Regions from separate parts of the Homo sapiens genome. Here all the other regions are linked to region 4. Evidence: promoter capture Hi-C in 16 types of primary human blood cells and fetal thymus (Javierre and others, 2016). All regions are on one chromosome and are shown on one strand. The core of a region is centred on a gene start or on the middle of the fragment in contact, and the rest is flanking DNA. Distances in the headings are between cores, read along the strand shown.

Region 1 (2,700 bases), core at 167-2,666, 150 kb before region 4:
TTCATAGGGTTTGTCCCCTGTATGAATTCTCTGATGCCGGATAAGCTCAGAACTCTGCCCGAAGCCCTTCCCACATTCATTACACAGATATGGTTTTTCTCCAGTATGAATTTTCTGGTGTCTAATAAGGCCTGAGCTATGCTTGAAGGCTTTGCCACACTCATTGCATTCATGGTATCTTTCTTCAGTATGAATTCTCTGATGCTGAATAAGCTGTGAACTAACCCTAAAGGTCTTCCCACATTCATTACATTCATATGGTTTCTCTCCAGTATGGATTCTCTGGTGTAGAATAAGGGCTGAATTTTGACTGAAGGCTTTACCACATTCTTCACATTTATAGGGTCTCTCTCCAGTATGAATTCTATGATGGTGAATAAGGTGTGAACTCTGAATGAAGGCCTTTCCACATTCATTACAAGCAAAGGGTTTTTCTCCAGCATGAATTCTCAGGTGCCGTCGAAGGCTTGAATTAGTTCCAAATGTCTTTCCACATTCTTTACATTCAAAGGGTTTTTCTCCACTATGAACTCTCATATGCTGGATGAGATGTGAGTTCTGATTAAAGGCTTTCCCACATTCTTTACATGTATGAGGCTTTTCTCCCACAGAACTTCTCTGTGTTTTGTTAGATTCTAAAATCTCTAGGAAGTTTTGGCCAGAGGTAGCAAATGCACTAACTCCCTCTGTTGTATCTCCCTGATGTGTAACCAGATTTGGGCTGGGACTGCAGCCTCTCTCACTCTCATTATTCTCCCGGTCTTTCTCACTTGAGGGTGATTTCTTAAAGATCATCAACCCTGATGGAAAGTCTCTCTCCTGAGGAGACATCTGCTCTATAACCTCTTCCATGGACTCTCTCGAATGTCCCTCCAACATGTCTTCTTCACATCCTGCTCCAAACTCATGACCTTGGTAAACCACTTTTGGAAATTTTTCTAATAATGACCCATGTGGCTCAGATTCTTCAGAAATTTCTTCCTTGGGAATCACCTCCTTGTTCTCAGTCCCCATCTCACAATCTGAAATGAGAGAGGTAAGTATGTGAAGGGACCGTATCATATTTAAATGAAGCTAACACTAGAGGACAACAGAGCTTTGATGTAGTTCTCATAGCACTCAGAAACAGTCTTGGTCAGGGGAGGAGGGCAGCTGAGGCAGGAGGATTGCTTGAGCCTGGGGAGGTCAAGGCTGCAGTGAGCTGAAATGCGCCACTGCACTTCAGCCTGGGTGACAGGGCGAGACCCTCTCAAAACAAAAAAACAAAACAGAAACAGTCTTGATATCTGGCGAAATGACAAGATGCTGCCAAAGAGAAGATCCAGATTTAGGATTATGGTGGACATGCTAAACAGTGGATGCTGACAGGAGTGAGAAAAGATTTCAAGAGAGAAGTAGGAAATGGATGGTAAAGAGATGCTGATAAAAAAAAAATCCATAATATTAACGGTGAGTTGGGTTAGAACCTGAAGGTGATTAAAGAAAACATCTAGGGAAAATGGTGGCCATATTAATAGATAGGTATACGATAAATATTGAAAGAAGGGACAGAAATGACATGGTGGTTCACATCTGTAATCCCAGCACTTTGGGAGGCCGAGGCGGGCGGATCATTTGAGCTCAGGAGTTCAAGACCAACCTGGGCAACATGGCGAAACCCTGTCTACTAAAAATACAAAAACTAGCTGGGCATGGTGGCGTACACCTGTAGTCCCAGCTTCTTGGGGGGCTGAGGCAGGACAATTGCTTGAACCAGGGAGGCGGAGGTTGCAATAAGTGGAGACTGCACCACTGCACTCCAGGCTGGGTGACAGAGTCAGACCCTGTCTCAAAAAAGAAAAAAAAAGGACAAGTTAATATAAATAACTTTTGGGTGTACAGGGGAAGTAACTGCAAAATGAGTAACAAGAGGACTATTCTTAGTCCTGTTCTCTGGTACTCATCAGCTCTATAGAGCAGGAGAGGGGACATAGAGGGCTTACCTCTTCAAAAGATTAATGTGTCTTAGCTATAACTAGCACAGAAGTACCGCCTTTGGCTCCCTGACATTTGGAGCCACTGGCTTTAAACTTCTCCAAAGGGCTACTGAATTGTGTCAATACCATTTACTGAATAATTCTTTCCCCTACTGATTTAAAATGCCACCTATGCCATAGTCTAAATATCCATCTATATTTGGGCCAACTTCTGGATTCTATTCAGTTCCACTGATCCTTGTCTTCTCTAATATCAAACAGTTCAACCTGTTAGCTTTATTAACATTTTTAATATATGCTAGAGAAAGTTATCTCAGTTTTCTTTTTCAGACCTTTCCTGTCTATTCTCATATCTTCCCAAGTAAACTTTAGTATAAATTTGTAGTCCAAACTTATGCTGATGTTGTTTTTATGTTCATCATGTCTCTGTACCTCTTTTCATTTAGTGAGATTTTCTTACATTTTGTAACTGGCTATTACTTATATATATAGCAATGCTGTTGATCATTACATATTAATTTTGTAATCAGCTCTCTTATAGTATTTTCTTAATACCTTCATAGATTACTTAAAGAGTGCATTTTTGGCAGGGTGTGGTGGCTCACACCTGTAATTCCAGTACTTTGGGAGGCAGAGGTGGGAAGATGGCTTGAGCTCAGGAGTTCAAGACCAGCCTAGGTAACATAGGGAGATCTTGTCTCAACTAAAATTTTTTAAAAATTGG
Region 2 (2,721 bases), core at 117-2,616, 130 kb before region 4:
GACCTGCGGGCAGCAATACTGCTTTGTAAAGCATTGAGATGTTTATGTGTATGCATATCTAAAAGCACAGCACTTAATCCTTTACATTGTCTATGATGCAAAGACCTTTGTTCACGTGTTTGTCTGCTGACCCTCTCCCCACAATTGTCTTGTGACCCTGACACATCCCCCTCTTCGAGAAACACCCACAAATGATCAATAAATACTAAGGGAACTCAGAGGCTGGCGGGATCCTCCATATGCTGAACGCTGGTTCCCTGGGTCCCCTTATTTCTTTCTCTATACTTTGTCTCTGTGTCTTTTTCTTTCCTAAGTCTCTCGTTCCACCTTACGAGAAACACCCACAGGTGTGGAGGGGCAACCCACCCCTACACTTGACTGCACATTGGAATCACCTGGGGTCTAAAATCATGGCTGTCTGGTGCCTCCCACATAGACTCTGTTGAAATTGATCTGAAAAAAGATCTGGACGTGGATTGTTTTGCTTTTAACTTTCCAGGTAATTCTGACCTACAGCCATGGTTGAAAACCAATAGCATAGGCCAATGGTTCTCAAAGTGTGGTCTCTAAACCAGCAGCATTAGCATCACCTGGGGACTTGTTAGAAATGAAAATTCTTAGGCCCCACCCACAGATCTTCTAAATCAGAAACTCTGGAGTTGGAGCTCAGAAATGTGTTGTGGCTTTTTTGTTTTGTTTTGTTTGGTTTGGTGGCTGTTGTTTTTTGAGATGGAGTCCACTCTGTCGCCCAGGCTGGGGTGCAGTGGTGCCATCTCAGCTCACCACAACCTCCGCCTCCTGGGTTCAAGTGATTCTCCTGCCTCAGCCTCCCGAGTAGCTGGGATTATAAGTATGCACCACCACACCTGGCTAATTTTTGTACTTTTAGTAGAGATGGGGTTTCACCGTATTGGCCAGGCTGGTCTTGATCTCCTGTCCTCAGGTGATCCACCTGCCTCGGCCTCCCAAAGTGCCAGGATTACAGGTGTGAGCCACCAAGCCCGGCCCAGAAATGTGTGTTTTAACAACACTTCATGGCTCTGATGCACAATAAAGTTTGAGAATCATTGGCCCCAGCTTTGGCAGTGCTTAATCTGACCTGCGCTTGTGTGTGAGTTAGGAAGGAAAAGGATAAGTTGTCTCCTCTCAGCCACTCCCCGGCTCACCGTTTGCTTTATTTTATTTTATTTTGTTTTGTTTTTTGAGATGGAGTCTTGCTCTTGTCGCTCAGGCTGGAGTGCAATGGCGTGATCTTGGCTCACCGCAACCTCCACCTCCGAGGTTCAAGCGATTCTCCTGCCTCAGCCTCCTGAGTAGCTGGGAATACAGCCACGTGCCACCACGCCCGGCTAATTTTTGTATTTTTAGTAGAGACAGGGTTTCTCCATGTTAGTCAGGCTTGTCTGGAACTCCTGAGCTCAGGTGATCCGCCCACCTCGGCCTCCCAAAGTGCTGGGATTACAGCCGTGAGCTACCACGCCTGGCCCACCGTCTGCTTTATTACACTAGCCAACCTAGGTGCCACCTGGAGTAATAGGAATCTACTGAGTGAAGGAGACAAGGACATATGGTTTGTAAATACTGTTCCCACTTTCAGCCTGTATGAGGATGTGTATGACTGGGCAGGGGCTGATGTTTCACGGTCTACTAACAGGTTCAGGACTTCCACAGAATTGGCTTTATAGGTGAGTATGAGCAGTTCTGTTCCTCTTAAAAAAAAAAAAAAAGGTAGATAGGAACACTGACCACCCTCCTGAATTCACACAGAGACAAACACATGGAGAAACCAAAGACACACTGCACTATTTCACCCTTGTCCCTTCTCTTCTATCTGTAGAATATGTGAGAAGGAGGGCTACAGGCACTGGCTGCACTCCTTTCTTACATTTTTATTTTATTATTTTATTATTTTATTTTATTTTATTTTTGAGACAGAGCTTCACTCTTGTCGCCCAGGCTGGAGTGCAATGGTGCAATCTTGGCTCACTGCAACCTCCGCCTGCTGGGTTCAAGCGATTCTCCTGCTTCAGCCTCCCAAGTAGTTGGGATTACAGACATGCACCACCACTCCTGGCTAATTTTTGTATTTTCAGTAGAGACAGGGTTTCGCCGTGTTGGACAAGCTGGTCTCGAACTCTTCACCTCAAGTGATCCACCTACCTCGGCCTCCCAAAGTGTTGGGATTACAGGCATGAGCCACTGCGCCCGGGCTCCGCTTCTTATCACTGCCAGCTGCTTCCTTACTCCTGCCTTTCTTCTTTTAACTAGGCCAACCTCACAGAACATCCTACATACCCAAAGTCTCACTCAATGTGACACAGACGAATCTTGCCTCATGTGATTTAACTATTTCCTACAGACACACAGCTGTCCTTGAGGTCCAGGACCATGTCACATGTCTTTGAGAGTTCTGCAGGAGGCACTGGTGGTGCTGGGCCTCTGTTCAGTGGAAACTTGATGGACAAAAATATTCATATCTCACCTCTGCACAGTAACGTGACTGGCTGAAGCTGAATCAAGGTTCAGTTACATCCTTGGTGTTCCCCCTTACACCTCCAGCTGTGAAGATGTAAGGAAGTAGAGCAAAGGAGCAACTTCCTACTCTGGAGTTAACAATTATACAGATGGTCCCCAACTTAACAATGCTTCAACTTGCAAGTTTTTGACTTTACAACAGTGCGGGAACAATACACATTCAGTAGAAAATATACTTCTTTTTTT
Region 3 (2,751 bases), core at 94-2,593, 150 kb after region 4:
AAATTAGCCGGGCGTGGTGGCGAACGCCTATAATCCCAGCTACTCGGGAGGTTAAGGGAAGAGAATCGCTTGAACCCGGGAGGCAGAGGTTGCAGTGAGCCGAGATGGCGTCACTGCACTCCAACCTGGGCAACAGAGTGAGACTTCGTCTCAAAACAAACAAACAAACAAACAAACAAAAAACATACTTAGCCAGATTTTCTCGCTTTTTGTTTTGCAAATTAGGAGTCCATCTGGTGGTCACAGGGGGAAAGGCATTCCAGGAAAGGATATAAGGATACAGAAAGCAATGGAAGAAACAGCATGATCTTTTCTTAGGGGTTCTTAGTCTCCTGTCCCCAAACTTCTTAGAGTTATTCCTGTTGGACCGGGCGCGGTGGCTCATGCCTGTAATCCCAGCACTTTGGGAGGCCGAGGCAGGCGGATCACAAGGTCAAGAGATAGAGACCATCCTGGCCAACACGGTGAAACCCGGTCTCTACTAAAAATACAAAAATTAGCGGGGCGGCGTCTTGGCGCGCGCCTGTAGTCCCAGCTACTCGGGAGGCTGAGGCAGGAGAATCGCTTGAACCCAGGAGGTGGAGGTAGCAGTGAGCCGAGATCGCGCCACTGCGATGCCGCCACTGGGCGACAGAGTGAGACTTCGACTCAAAAAATAAAAATAAAAAAGAATTATTTCTGTTTGTATATGTCTTCTTCTAAGGTAGGGAGGAGTGTCCCGGATTCTCAAGGTGTTAGGGCCCTGAGCTCTCAGAAGACCTCTCAGAGGAGGAAGAGACTTCTGAGCTGACAGGAGTTTTCTCAGCTTCTCCAGTTCGAGGATTCTTGTCCTATCCTCACTCTGATGTCCCCTCACATCCTGGAGGTCTCTGGGTTGCTCTTGCCCCATCCCGTCACTGGTGGGACTCCCGGGAGGTCACTTCCATCCCTAGCCCTGGTCTCTGCTCTGTCTCCACTCTCACTGCTGGAATGTTTCCCAGCTTGCTTGGCTGTAAACCTAAGGCAAGTTGCTTGCCATTTTTGAGCCAGTTCCCTCATCTACAAAATAGGAAGGATAATTCTCACCCCCCAAAAATTGTTGTGAGGGTTAAACAAAATACTGCAAAGCGCTAACCATAATTCGTAGCCTATAGTAAATATTCAGTAGGTGATGGTTATTTTAATTCGCCCTCTCTCACTGCCCCTCCTACCCTAGCTCTGGGAGCCTCTGCCTCCGGGAGCAGGAAATAGGGTTCCGGGAGTGGATTAGTTTTGGGTTTCACTTAATCTGGGAGGCCCTTCCGCAATCGGAGCCCTCACAGAGGCCAAACTGATATAAATCTGCTTAGGAGGCCTGATTCACAGACGCTACAGGATGGAGCGGGGCGCAGGAGCCAAGCTGCTGCCGCTGCTGCTGCTTCTGCGGGCGACTGGTTTCACATGTGCACAGACAGATGGCCGGAACGGCTACACGGCGGTCATCGAAGTGACCAGCGGGGGTCCCTGGGGCGACTGGGCCTGGCCTGAGATGTGTCCCGATGGATTCTTCGCCAGCGGGTTCTCGCTCAAGGTTGGGGCTCAGGCGTAGGTCCTGGAGAGGGCGGAGATGCGTGGGACCATAGAGCCAAGGATGATAATTCCGTGACTCGCCCTTGCCCCTCTCCTCGATACCCAGGTGGAGCCTCCCCAAGGCATTCCTGGCGACGACACTGCACTGAATGGGATCAGGCTGCACTGCGCGCGCGGGAACGTCCTAGGCAATACGCACGTGGTAGAGTCCCAGTCTGGAAGGTGGGGCGCAGGGGTCGAGGATCCCTTGGGGTGATGGTATGTCCCTTACCCTCTATTACATACTCCGTCGCAACAGGCAGGCTGGCTCCGCCAGAGCTACGGGGCAGTATAGACCGGGGAGGCGAAGGGTGGATGGAAGACCCCTCCTCCGCTCCTCGGCGGAGGTCGGGGAGCACCCAGCCCACCAGGTCATATACACAGCACTTGGCTTGGAAAGTCTCAAGGGCTTGGTGAATGGGGGGCCCGCAGAGGCAACGCATCTCCCTTTGCCTTGCAGCTGGGGCGAATGGAGTGAGCCGCTGTGGTGTCGCGGCGGCGCCTACCTAGTGGCTTTCTCGCTTCGCGTGGAGGCACCCACGACCCTCGGTGACAACACAGCAGCGAACAACGTGCGCTTCCGCTGTTCAGACGGCGAGGAACTGCAGGGGCCTGGGCTGAGCTGGGGAGACTTTGGAGACTGGAGTGACCATTGCCCCAAGGGCGCGTGCGGCCTGCAGACCAAGATCCAGGGACCTAGAGGCCTCGGCGATGACACTGCGCTGAACGACGCGCGCTTATTCTGCTGCCGCAGTTGAACGGCGCCGCCGCCGCCGCTCTCTCCCGGGCCAGGAGGCTAGTCCCACCTCTTGCTATTAAAGCTTCTCTGAGTTGACTTTGGTCTCGCCTGTTTATTTCATTTATTTATTTATTAATTTATTTATTTGAGACGGAGTATCGCTCTGTCCCCCAGGCTGGAGTGCAGTGGCTCACTCGGCTCACTGCAAGCTCTGCCTCCCGGGTTCACGCCGTTCTCCTGCCTCAGCCTCCCGAGTAGCTGGGACTACAGGCGCCCGCCACTACGCCCGGCTAATTTTTTTTTTTTTTTTTTGTATTTTTAGTAGAGACGGGGTTTCACCGTGTTAGCCAGGATGGTCTCGATCTCCTGACCTCATGATCCGCCCACCTTGGCCTCCCAAAGTGCTGGGATTACAGGCGTGAGAC
Region 4 (2,700 bases), core at 201-2,700:
CAGAGAGATTAACTTGCCCAAAGTCATATAAGCAATAACTAGCACCTGAGACCTTCCTGATAAGGACCGTTGATCCTGCCTTCTGTCTTCGTCCACTTTCAGTCTCCCTGATAACCTCGGAGTTCCAGGGGTGGACACTCTGTCTTCTCCCTCTAGATTCTGGGTTCTACACTAGACGTGCTCAGTTCCTAACTTCATTTTCCTACCTCCAGTTTCACCCAGGACAAACCTCCCCAACCCCAGCCTAGGATGGAGGATCTTGCGAAATACTAAAAAAAGAAAAAAGACAGAAAAGGAAGGAAGGGAGGGAAGGAGGAAAAGAAAAGAAAGAAAATCACCTGGAGGCCCTCCTGGCTCAAGGTAGCCCCAAACAGAGCTGGAAGGTCTGCAAAGTCCATGCTGGCATTGTGGTCCGAGGTCTGCGGACAAAAAAGGCGATGTTCCCCTTCAGCCTGCAACCCTTCCTTTCAGCGCCCTTTCCCCATCCGTCCCTCAGACTCACCGCTCGAATGAGCCCCCGGGTCGGGGCCGCTCCCCACAGCACAGCGGCCACAACCACAGGAAGCGGGAAGGCTGCAGGGTGCATGGCAGCGGGAGGAAAGAGGCTGAGGAGGCCGCGCGTCCTGGTAGCAAGGAGCAGAAGCGGAGTTCTGCGCCCTCCCTGCCCCTCCTTTAGGATCCCAGGGGTCCAACCACCCCCAGGTCCCACTTCCCAGCTACATGGGGGCGCCGGGGAAGGAACACCAACTCAAAGAATGAGATATCCAACCCGTTTAGTGGAGCTGGGTGGGAGGCACTAAATGTATCCTTTTCTGGTACGGGGATAAAACGCGGAAAGGGGACGGAGCCTAACACAGGTGACAGAAAAACTTCGGGAAGGGTGGCGGAGCTCAAGGAGGTGGGACTTCCTGCTAGGTGGGCCGTGTTCCCAGCCTCTGGAAAAGGGCTTCCGGTAGAGAAAATCAGGCCGCTTTCAGCATTGGATGCTTGAGATGAAGGACTTCCGGTCCTAAAAGGCCGGTTAAAAAAAGGTTAGCGATGGAGGGACTGCCTGTGGAGATGGAAGGGGCACTGGTGGCCCAGAAGACGACCTAATAAAAGTGCCCGGAAACCCGGAGCCTCCTAGTTTACAAACCTCTCCTCCCTCTGGCCTCCGCCGCTCCTTCAAATCTCGCGAGAGTGCTCACCACCTCTCCCGTCCCCTCGCAGCTGAATAGTTGCTGTGTCTATCGCGAGAGCGCTCCAACTTGGCGAGCCGTACTCACTCGATCTCGCGAGACCTTCAAACAAACTCTTCTCTATTTTCCCGCGATTCTAATTCGGTGAAAACAGCGCCTTTCCTCTGGTTTCCAAATCAGTTACGCCCCTTCTCGCACGCTTCCATCAAGCTCCTCCTTCAGCTCCGCCTTACTCCCGGCCGCCTTTGCGCTGCGCGCCTGCGCCCGCGCCGGCTTCCAGCGGGTGTCGGACCTGAGAGCTGGAGGGGCGTGCGCGCGCCCTCGCTCTGTTGCGCGCGCGGTGTCACCTTGGGCGCGAGCGGGGCCGCGCGCGCACGGGACCCGGAGCCGAGGGCCATTGAGTGGCGATGGCGGCGACGGCGAGTGCCGGGGCCGGCGGGATAGACGGGAAGCCCCGTACCTCCCCTAAGTCCGTCAAGTTCCTGTTTGGGGGCCTGGCCGGGTAAGCTCAGGCCCCAGGGATGGGAAAAGAGGAGGAAGGGAAGGGCAAAAGGAACCGGGCCCGGTTCATCTCTGGGTCTGTTGCAGTGAACTGTGCCGGCACGGGGTCAGCGCGATCTCCAGCGTATTGCGAGTTCCCCGATGGGCTGCTAGGGCCCCATTGCAGGACCCTTATGGACTGCATGCAGGGTCGTTGCACAACCCCCGCCGGGCCAGCTGAGTTTCCCAGCGCATTGCTAAGCTCGGCCGGGCGGCAGGGGGTTCCAGGCCATTAAATGGCTCCTGCAGGACTACCTGGAGTCCTAAATCTTGGATGCCCCTTCCTCCCCTCCCTGTGTCGGACTGCGTGCAGCCCCAGGTCACTGCTTGACTGTCATGAAGCTGCTTGGAGCACTTTCATTGCATGGCCCCTACTGGACAACTAGACTTTTCAGACCCGTTGCACTTGGTGTACATATAGACTCTTATACACATGCTCACCAGCATCCTGATTCTTGAATCGCATGGCAGGCCCTGACCTTTGTAACCTCTTGCTGCCAGGCTCCAGTGGGCACTGGTAGATCTGGAATGCCTGGCCCTTCACTCCACCTCTGTCTTCCCCCAGGATGGGAGCTACAGTTTTTGTCCAGCCCCTGGACCTGGTGAAGAACCGGATGCAGTTGAGCGGGGAAGGGGCCAAGACTCGAGAGTACAAAACCAGCTTCCATGCCCTCACCAGTATCCTGAAGGCAGAAGGCCTGAGGGGCATTTACACTGGGTATTGGGGCCTCAGGATGGAGGGTAGACTGTGGGTTGGCAGCTCTAGACCTTGGCCTGATATGCTGACCCCTCTGCTCCTCAGGCTGTCGGCTGGCCTGCTGCGTCAGGCCACCTACACCACTACCCGCCTTGGCATCTATACCGTGCTGTTTGAGCGCCTGACTGGGGCTGATGGTACTCCCCCTGGCTTTCTGCTGAAGGCTGTGATTGGCATGACCGCAGGTGCCACTGGTGCCTTTGTGGGAACACCAGCCGAAGTGGC

The links. Contacts are between HindIII fragments. The CHiCAGO score rates a contact against its expected background, and 5 or more counts as called.
Region 1: a fragment that was not itself captured here is called in contact with the fragment with the promoter of SLC25A11 in region 4 in 1 of 17 cell types (naive B cells); the score reaches 5.3 in naive B cells.
Region 2: a contact is called between a fragment that was not itself captured here and the fragment with the promoter of SLC25A11 in region 4, in 6 of 17 cell types (M1 macrophages, naive B cells, total B cells and 3 more). The highest score is 6.7, in M1 macrophages.
Region 3: a contact is called between the fragment with the promoter of VMO1 here and the fragment with the promoter of SLC25A11 in region 4, in 2 of 17 cell types (monocytes and M2 macrophages). The highest score is 6.6, in monocytes.

Annotation. Positions count from the first base shown.
Region 1 is chr17:5,089,819-5,092,518 of GRCh38, reverse strand. ZFP3 (ZFP3 zinc finger protein) reads right to left here. Exons shown (of 2, transcript NM_153018.3): 2 at 1-1,022. The coding sequence starts at 1,014. Among named protein-coding and RNA genes, the nearest start is that of ZFP3, 13 kb to the right of the region's middle. The HindIII fragment of the contact is 3,851 bases long and covers 1-2,700 here.
Region 2 is chr17:5,072,332-5,075,052 of GRCh38, reverse strand. No RefSeq gene overlaps it. Among named protein-coding and RNA genes, the nearest start is that of ZFP3-DT, 4.4 kb to the left of the region's middle. The HindIII fragment of the contact is 8,230 bases long and covers 1-2,721 here.
Region 3 is chr17:4,784,956-4,787,706 of GRCh38, reverse strand. It overlaps VMO1 (vitelline membrane outer layer 1 homolog), which reads left to right and starts at 1,343. Exons shown (of 3, transcript NM_182566.3): 1 at 1,343-1,549; 2 at 1,655-1,770; 3 at 2,048-2,422. The coding sequence starts at 1,355. The coding sequence ends at 2,345. The HindIII fragment of the contact is 7,251 bases long and covers 1-2,410 here.
Region 4 is chr17:4,938,796-4,941,495 of GRCh38, reverse strand. SLC25A11 (solute carrier family 25 member 11) reads left to right here and starts at 1,450. Exons shown (of 8, transcript NM_003562.5): 1 at 1,450-1,680; 2 at 2,284-2,436; 3 at 2,521-2,700. The coding sequence starts at 1,586. RNF167 (ring finger protein 167) reads right to left here and starts at 1,228. Exons shown (of 10, transcript NM_015528.3): 1 at 1,136-1,228; 2 at 503-1,009; 3 at 339-419. The coding sequence starts at 586. RefSeq lists enhancers at 321-450, 1,331-1,400, 2,117-2,642, 2,643-2,700 and silencers at 784-978, 1,541-1,610. The HindIII fragment of the contact is 8,197 bases long and covers 1-2,700 here.